2 separate regions of the Homo sapiens genome follow, and region 1 is linked to region 2. The links are contacts of gene promoters, found by promoter capture Hi-C in blood cells and fetal thymus (Javierre and others, 2016). All regions are on one chromosome and are shown on one strand. Each heading gives the region's core, a stretch centred on a gene start or on the middle of the fragment in contact. The rest is flanking DNA. Distances are from core to core; before and after follow the strand shown. Region 1 holds the start of COX19 (cytochrome c oxidase assembly factor COX19). Region 2 holds the start of ZFAND2A (zinc finger AN1-type containing 2A).

The links. The method cuts DNA at HindIII sites, captures the fragments that hold promoters and counts their contacts. A CHiCAGO score of 5 or more calls a contact.
Region 1: a fragment that was not itself captured here is called in contact with the fragment with the promoter of ZFAND2A in region 2 in 2 of 17 cell types (total B cells and naive B cells); the score reaches 7.8 in total B cells.

The regions. Positions count from the first base shown.
Region 1 is chr7:973,047-977,292 of GRCh38, reverse strand. COX19 (cytochrome c oxidase assembly factor COX19) reads left to right here and starts at 1,744. Exons shown (of 3, transcript NM_001031617.3): 1 at 1,744-1,865; 2 at 4,001-4,112. The coding sequence starts at 1,784. RefSeq lists enhancers at 758-1,638, 2,270-2,339, 1,639-2,521 and silencers at 1,570-1,849, 1,870-2,029. The HindIII fragment of the contact is 5,464 bases long and covers 1-4,015 here.
Region 2 is chr7:1,158,524-1,162,563 of GRCh38, reverse strand. It overlaps ZFAND2A (zinc finger AN1-type containing 2A), which reads left to right and starts at 2,368. Exons shown (of 5, transcript NM_182491.4): 1 at 2,368-2,600. It overlaps ZFAND2A-DT (ZFAND2A divergent transcript), which reads right to left and starts at 2,190. Exons shown (of 3, transcript NR_110069.1): 1 at 1,941-2,190; 2 at 21-212. RefSeq lists enhancers at 1,212-1,724, 1,725-2,238, 2,239-2,751, 2,752-3,266 and silencers at 1,830-1,879, 1,890-2,429. The HindIII fragment of the contact is 3,271 bases long and covers 1,920-4,040 here.

The sequences.
Region 1 (4,246 bases), core at 34-2,533, 180 kb after region 2:
CTCATGGCCAGGGCATGTGGGTACAGGTTCAGGGCTGGGAGAGACTCCGCGGGTGGACGCTGGGGTCTTCACTGAGCCCTTTCCCACGACTGCTGTTGCCATGACAACATCGACACGCAAAGGCCGGGCCTTACCGCTTACAGTACACTTTCATTCTGCCCTAGGTTGAGCTGTAACTACCCTCCACCCCCATTCGTATGGTGAAGCCACTAGGACCTTAGGATGTGACCTTTGCTTTGGAAATAGGTGCCAGGTGCGGCGGCTCACGCCTGTCATCCCAGCCCTTTGGGAGGCTGAAGTGGGCGGATCACTTAAGGTCAGGAGTTCGAGACCAGCCTGGGCAACATGGTGAAACCCCGTCTCTACGAAAAGTACAAAAAATTAGCCGGGTGTGGTGGCGCATGCCTGTAATCCCAGCTACTCTGGAGGCTGAGGCAGGAGAATCTCTTGAACTCGGGAAGTGGAGGTTGCGGTGAGCCGAGATCGTACCACTGCACGCCCGTCTAGGTTACAAAGTGAGACTCTGTGTTGAAAAAAAATATATTAGCTTAGCTGGGTGTGTTGGTGGCGCCTGTAATCCCAGCTACTCGGGAGGCTGAGGCAGGAGAATTGCTTTAACCTGGGAGGTGGAGGTTGCAATGAGCCAGGATCGAGCCACTGTACTCCAGCCTGGGCAACAAGAGAGAGACTCCGTTTTAAAAAACAAAACAAAGAAATAGGGTTGCTGCTGATATAATTAGTTAAGATGAAGTTATTGGGACGGCCCCTAACCCAACATGACTGCTATCCTTATAAAAAGAGGAAATTTAGGTTGGGCATGGTGGCTCATGCCTATAATCCCGGCATTTAGGGAGGCTGAGGCAGGAGGATTGCCTGAGCCCAGGAGTTAAGGACCAGCCTGGGCAACATAGGGAGACTCCATCTCTACGAAAAATAGAAAAATTAGCCTGGTGTGGTGGTGTGTGCCTGTGGTCGCAGCTACTCAGGAGGCTGGGGTGAGAGGATCGCTGAGCCCAGGAGGTCGAGGCTGCAGTGAGTCGTGATCATGCCACTGCACTCTAGTCTGGGCAACAGAGCAATACCCTGTCTCAAATAAATAAATAAAAATAGTAAATTTGGACATGCGCAGGACACCATGGGAACGTAGGGGCCGAGACCAGGTGGTGCTTCTGCAAGCCAAGGAACCTCACAGGCTGGCGGCCCCCAGAAGCTGGGAGGCTGGGACTGTCCCCAGGGCCCCCACTCTGCCCACTGCTTGGACTCCAGACCCCAGGACTGAGAGCACATTCCTGTTGTTGAAGCTGCTCGGTGGTGTCACCTGGCTCCAGCAGCCGCAGGCAGCGAGTCCACAGGCTCTCCTGTCCCTCCTGTGCCGCCTTCCTCCCCGGATGGGCCCCGTGATGAGGTCTCTGTGCGATGGGGAAACCGAGGCCCCAGCAGACACCTGGGATGCAGAGACGCCGGCACCGCTATGTGTCCTCGGGCAATTCGCTGAACCTTTCTGGGCCTCGGTTTCTCACCAATTCCAAAAGCTGATTCTGCTACCGACTGCTGTGAGGGTCCCAGGGGACGGGAAAGCCCGGGCAGCGCCCACCGGGGCTCAGGAGCTTGCTGACTCCGAGGGGGTGGGGCCGGGCCTGGGCAAGGGGTGGGGCCGGGCCTGGGCAAGGGGCGGGGACGGGGCCTGCTCGACGTGCTCGGCGCTCCCGGGGTGCCTGCTCGGCGCTCCGCCGGCCGCCCTGCGTACGCTCGCAAGGCGCTCGCAGACTCCGGAGTCGCCAACATGTCGACCGCCATGAATTTCGGGACCAAGAGCTTCCAGCCGCGGCCCCCGGACAAGGGCAGCTTCCCGCTGGATCACTTAGGTGAGCGGCGGAAGGTCGGCGGGCAGGGGTCTGCGATGGGGGGTCTGGGTCGCGGCCCAGCGCGGAGCCCTATGGGGTGCCGGCATCTAGCGCGGTGCAGGCGGGGAAACTGAGGCACGGCGGCCCGCCCCTCCGCCCCACCCAGCCCTGGGTCACTGCTGCGGCATGGACCCTGCAGGTGGGAGCTGGCAGGACCGTGGCCCCCGTGACGAGGGCAGCGACACCGACTCCTTGCGTCAGGCTTCCGGGTCTCCGGCTCCGCCCTGACTCACCCGGCGGGCTGTCTGTGCCCCGGGTTTGCAGAGCGGGGCATTCGGCGGCCACGAAGCCCGCAGCTGCAGCCGAGGCTTAGACGGTGCCTAGCGATGTCTGCTGCAAAGCTCAAAAGTGCTGCTGATCTCCCAGTGCTTCTGGCCGTATTCCGGTGGGGTTGCCTCCGTGGACATGAAGGCTTCGAAAAAGGATCTGTGGGCCGGGCGCGGTGGCTCATGCCTGTGATCCCAGCCCTTTGGGAGGCCGAGGTGGGCGGATCATTTAAGATCAGGAGTTCGAGACCAGCCTGCCCAACATGGGGAAACCCCGTCTCTACTAAAAATACAAAAATTAGTTGGGTGTGATGTGGCTCGCCTGTAGTCCCAGCTACTCGGGAGGCTGAGGCAGGAGAATCGCTTGAACCGGGAGACGGAGGTTGCAGTGAGCCGAGATCGGGCCACTGCACTGCAGCTTGGGCGACAGAGTGAGACAACGTCTCAAAAAAAAAAAGAAAGAAAAGAAAAGAAAAACGATCTGTGAATTACTGTTTCTTTCCCAACATTTTATTGTGACATTTTCAAATAGCAAAAATGAAAGAATTTTTACCCTGAACTCTCCTGTGACCATCACCTACATTGCACCTTAACCTCGTACTGGGCTGACTTTACCTCGTTGTGGGTTTTTTCCATTGTTGTTTTCAGCATGTTTATGAAGGAAACAAGTTTGGGTTTGATTGTTTTTGTTTTGAGACACGGTCTCACTCTGTTGCTTAGGCTGGAGTGCAGTGGTGCAATCATAGCTCACTGAAGCCTCGGCCTCCTTCCTTTCTGGACTCAGGGGAGTCTCCCGTCTCATCCTCTAGAGTAGCTGGGACTATAGGTGTGCAGCGCCACACCCAGCTAATTTTTTTTTTTTTTTTTTTTTTAGAGATGGGGTTTCCCCATGTTGCCCAGGCTGGATTATTTATTTATTTATTTTTGAAATGGACTCTCACTGTGTCGCCCAGGCTGGAGTGCAGTGGTGTGATCTCGACTCACTGCAACCTCCTCCTCCCGGGTTCAAGCGATTCTCCTGTCTCAGCCTCTAGAGTAGCTGGGACTATAGGTGTGCAACACCACACCCAGCTAATTATTATTGTTTTTTTATTTTTTATTTTAAAGATGGAGTTTCCCCATGTTGACCAGGCTGGATCATTTATTTATTTATTTTTGAAATGGAGTCTCACTCTGTCACCCAGGCTGGAGTGCAGTGGTGTGATCTCGACTCGCTGCAACCTCCGCTTCCTGGGTTCAAGCAATTCTCCTGCCTCAGCCTCCCGAGTAGCTGGGACTACAGACACCCGCCACCATGCCCGGCTAATTTTTGTATTTTTAATAGAGATGGGGTTTCACCAAGTTGGCCGAGCTGGTCTTGAACTCCTGACCTCAGGTGATCCGCCCACCTCTGCCTCCCAAAGTGCTAGGATTACAGGCGTGAGCCACCGTGCCCAGCCTGGATTATTTTTAGGAGACAAGGTCTTGATCTGTTGCCCAGGCTGGAGTGCAGTGGTGTGATCAAGCTCACTGCAGCCTCGAAATCCTTTGCTCAAGCGATCTTCCTGCCTCAGCCTCCTGAGTAGCTGGAACCACAGACGTGCGCCACACCTAGCTAACTTTTAAGGTTTTTTTTGGTAGAGATGGGGGTCTCACTGTGTTGCCCAGGCTGGTCTCAAACTCCTGGGGTCAGGTGATCCTCTCAGAGTGCTGGGATTACAGGTGTGAACCACTGCGCCCGGCCTGAGGAAACAAGTTTTGAAAGGAAAAGCAGCGCAGCTCTTAAGGCTGTTGTGTGGTTGCATCACTTTTCACTCTGAAAAGAACATGCTGTTTTCTTTCTCGTTCTAGGTGAATGTAAAAGCTTTAAAGAGAAATTCATGAAGTGTCTTCATAACAATAATTTTGAAAATGCTTTGTGCAGAAAGGAATCAAAAGAATATTTAGAATGCAGGATGGAGAGGTGAGTACAGCTAAGCGTTATGATTTCCACCTCCCACTACTCCAATTAAAACTTTTTTTTTCCTGAAAGGCCATTACAGTGTGTCTTTTTCAGGCCTGGGATTCAGCTTGTGTTTTTCAGGACTGTGGAATTGT
Region 2 (4,040 bases), core at 1,119-3,618:
GTAAAACAGGGTTAACGAACCAGTCCAAGGAGAGCGATGTGGCCAAGGAGGAGGTCCTGCACTGATCCAGACATCTTGAAAGGTGGGAGTCCGGGCCTGGGCAGAGCCTTCAAGGGGAGATGTTGTGTGATTGGGAGGGACAGCAAGATGGAGCCAGTCACCACCGCCGTGCAGCTGGTGAGGTCCTGCTCTTTTCACAGCCCTTGAGTTCTCTGGTGAAAACCGAGAGTAAAGACTGTACAATAAGCCGGGCACAGTGGCTCATGTTCTGTAATCCCAGCGCTTTGGGAAGCTGAGGCAGAGGGATCACCTGAGGTCAGGAGTTCAAGACCAGCCTGGGCTACATAGCAAAACCCCGTATCTACAAAAAATACAAAAATTAGCCAGGCATGATGGCGCATGCCTGTAGCTCCCGCTACTCAGGAGCCTGAGGAAGAAGGATGGCTTGAGCCTGGGAGGTGGAGGCTGCAGTGAGCTGTGATCATCCCAGTGCCCTTCAGCCTGAGCCACAGAGGAAGACACTGTCTAAAGAAAAACAACAAGCTGGGCGCAGTGGCTCACGCCTGTAATGCCAGTACTTTGGGAGGCCGAGGCAGGCAGATCACCTGAGGTTGGGAGTTTGAGACCAGCCTGACCAATATGGAGAAACCCCCGTCTCTACTAAAAATACAAAATTAGCCGGGCCTGGTGGTGCATGCCTGTAATCCCAGCTACTTGGGAGACTGAGGCAGGAGAATCGCTTGAACCCAGGAGGTGGTGGTTCCGGTGAGCCGAGATCACACCACTGCACTCCAGCCTGGGCAACAAGAGTGAAACTCCATCTCAAAACAACAAACAAAAAACAAAACAAGAAAAAGCATGCCTGGTTGTGTCTGTCCTTACCTGATTGGGCATGGTCTCTATTGATTAGGCGACCATCTGGTCTGGTTGGCACGACGCTTTTTGGGTTTGAGGAAGGGTCTGCTCTGCTGCCCAGGCTCTAGTGCAGGGCGCATTCACAGCTGACTTATGCCTCCACCTCCCAAGAGGCTGGGACTGCAGGTGCATGCCACCATGCTGCGTTCATTTCTTATTTTTGTAGAGACAGGGTTTCGTCATGTTCACCAGGCTGGTCTTGAACTCCTGTCAGGCCTCTGAGCCCAAGCTAAGCCATCATATCCCCAGTGACCTGCATGTATACATCCAGATGGCCTGAAGCAACTGAAGATCCACAAAAGAAGTGAAAACAGCCTTAACTGATGACATTCCACCCTTGTAATTTGTTTCTGCCCCATCCTAACTGATCAATGTACTTTGTAATCTCCTCTACCCTTAAGAAGGTTCTTTGTAATTCTCCCCACCCTTGAGAATGTACCTTATGAGATCCACCACCTGCCTGCAAAACATTGCTCCTAACTCCACCGTCTATCCCAAAACCTGTAAGAACTAATGATAATCCCATCGCCCTTTGCTGACTCTCTTTTCCGACTCAGCCGGGCTGCACCCGGGTGAAATAAACAGCCTTGTTGCTCACACAAAGCCTGTTTGGTGGTCTCTTCACACAGACATGTGAGACACTAACCTCAGGCCATCCTCCCACCTCGGCCTCCCAAAGTGCCGGGATTACAGGCCTGAGCCACCGTGCACCGTCCGGCTAATATTTTATTTCTGCAGAGATGGGGTCTCGCTATGTTGCCCAGGCTGGTCTCCATGTCCTGGGCCCACGCCCTCCTCCTGCCCAGCTGGGCGGGGTCTTACCCAGGCGGAGCCCCTTACGTGCAGGGCGTTCTGTGCAGTGACCGCGGCCCTGGGCAGAGCCAACCCCACGCGGCCACATAACCGTCCAGGGGGCGGGGGGCAGCGCGGTGAAATGGAAAAGGATTTAACTGGGGGATCTAGGTGCTGGGGACACTGACATTTTCGGTATTATTCTTGAAGCTTTTCCCTAAGTTTGAAATTACCTAAAAACACGTTGTTTTGAGATGGAGGCCTCCTGGGGCCCGCAGGATGCGCGGCCGCGGGCGGGTGCCCGGGGCGGGAGGCGCCGGATGGGTCGCTAGGCCTCCTCCCTCAGGCCGGCCTCGCGCTCCTACCCCGCAGGACCCCGGCCGCAGCCCTGAGTCAGCTTCCCCGCTCCTCGCCCGCCCGGCTGCGCCTGCGCGGAGCCGCCTCACTGTGACCCAGCAAGCGCGCCGCCTGCGAGAAGCGACCGGACACTTCGAGAAGGGAAGTGGAGAAGCGAGGAGTGGGCGGGCCTGCGGGGCGCGGCGGGGCGGGATTGGCCGGATGGCTGGTGTCGTCTTCGGTGTGCGCCGGCGCCACTGGGCCGCGGCCTGGCGGGATTGGCCGGTCTGCGGGTGACGTTGTCGGGGCGCGCCCGGAAACCCCAAGGCCCAGACGGCTCTCAGATCCGGGGGCTGCGGATAAATCCCCGTAGGCCGCGGGCAGCGAGATGTTGCGTTCCGGTGTGGGTGTGGGTGTGCCTCCGACGGCGTCTCGGTGCCAGTGTCGAGGTTCTTTCTGCTTAGCTACCCGGAGCCGACTACGGAGGAGGACACCTGAGTTTACGTCTCTTCCATCTGCTGCTCACCTCAGCTGCCTGGGTCCCCGACGAGAGCCAGGTACGGGGCCGGGATTGCGCAGACAGGGTCTGCCGGGGGTCGGGCCTGCCTTGAGGTCAGGTTGCTCGGGGGTTCGGCCTGTCTGCTAGGAGTGCGGCTGCTGAAAGTCCGGCTGCTTGCTGGAGGTCAGGCTGCTGGGGGTCCGGCCTGTCTGCTGGGGACCGGGCCTGCCGGGGTCTGGCTGCTGGGGGTCCGGCCTGTCTGCTGGGGACCGGGCCTGCCGGGGTCTGGCTGTTGGGGGTCCGGCTGTCTGCTGGGGACCGGGCCTGCCGGGGTCTGGCTGCTGGGGGTCCGGCCTGTCTGCTGGGGACCGGGCCTGCCGGGGTCTGGCTGCTGGGGGTCCGGCCTGTCTGCTGGGGACCGGGCCTGCCGGGGTCTGGCTGTTGGGGGTCCGGCCTGTCTGCTGGGGACCGGGCCTGCCGGGGTCTGGCTGTTGGGGGTCCGGCTGTCTGCTGGGGACCGGGCCTGCCGGGGTCTGGCTGCTGGGGGTCCGGCCTGTCTGCTGGGAGTCCGGCTGTCTGCTGGGGGCCGGGCCTGCCATCGGGGCCGTAGTACCGGGTCGCACGGGGTCGTTAACCCGCCAGCCGAGTGACAGCCACGTAGATGTGTGTTTTCTTGCTGCGGGCCCGGCCCGCCAGGGTAGGGTGTTGGTTTCCTAGGACGGGTGCTGTGCGTCCAGAACAAAATCATTTGGGGATTCACATCAAACTCTTGTGAATTCCTTGAACAAAACAATTTCGGAACGCCTGCTGTGTGTCGGGCACCGGGAGCTAATAGTAAAGCAGCGGATCTGTAGTTGGAAGCTGTGGGCGAAGGAGGGCTGGGAAAGGACTAATGGGCACCTTAAGTAGCGGGCGTGTAACATAGAGGGAACTGGGGAGGGTGGGAATGGCTTTAAACTGAGGCGGGAGGGGATAACTAGACGTTTGCCATGGGCGAGAGTGTTCCAGTCTTAGGCGACAGTCTAGGAGGCCTCCAGGAGTGGGGAGAGAGCTGATGGGAAGGTCAGGAAAAGGCCCCGGGAGGGGCTGGTGAGTACTAGATGACGGGACCTCGTGAGCCCCAGGAAAAGGCCCCGGGAGGGCTGGTGGGTACTAGATCATGGAGGGGACCTCGTGAGCCCCTTGATTCTCTCTCGAGTGCGGTAGTTTCACCAGCTGTCTGCCTGTTTTCCATAGTGACTTAACAGCTTGCGCTTCTCCCTGATCAACTCCAGGTTGATGTCATCGAGGAATAAGTTCACAGTAAGATTCAATGCCTAAGGGAGTTGAAGAGAGAGGCGAGGGACAGAGTTAAATCTTCTCTGGATAATGGAGTCAACTGATGTGATTTAGCACCTAGTAACAGAGTTTTGTTTATGTGAACAAGTATATTCCATGGATAAAATTGTGACTTAAAATTCACCAAAGTCGTAATCATCACTGGCAGCTGTGTGAATTA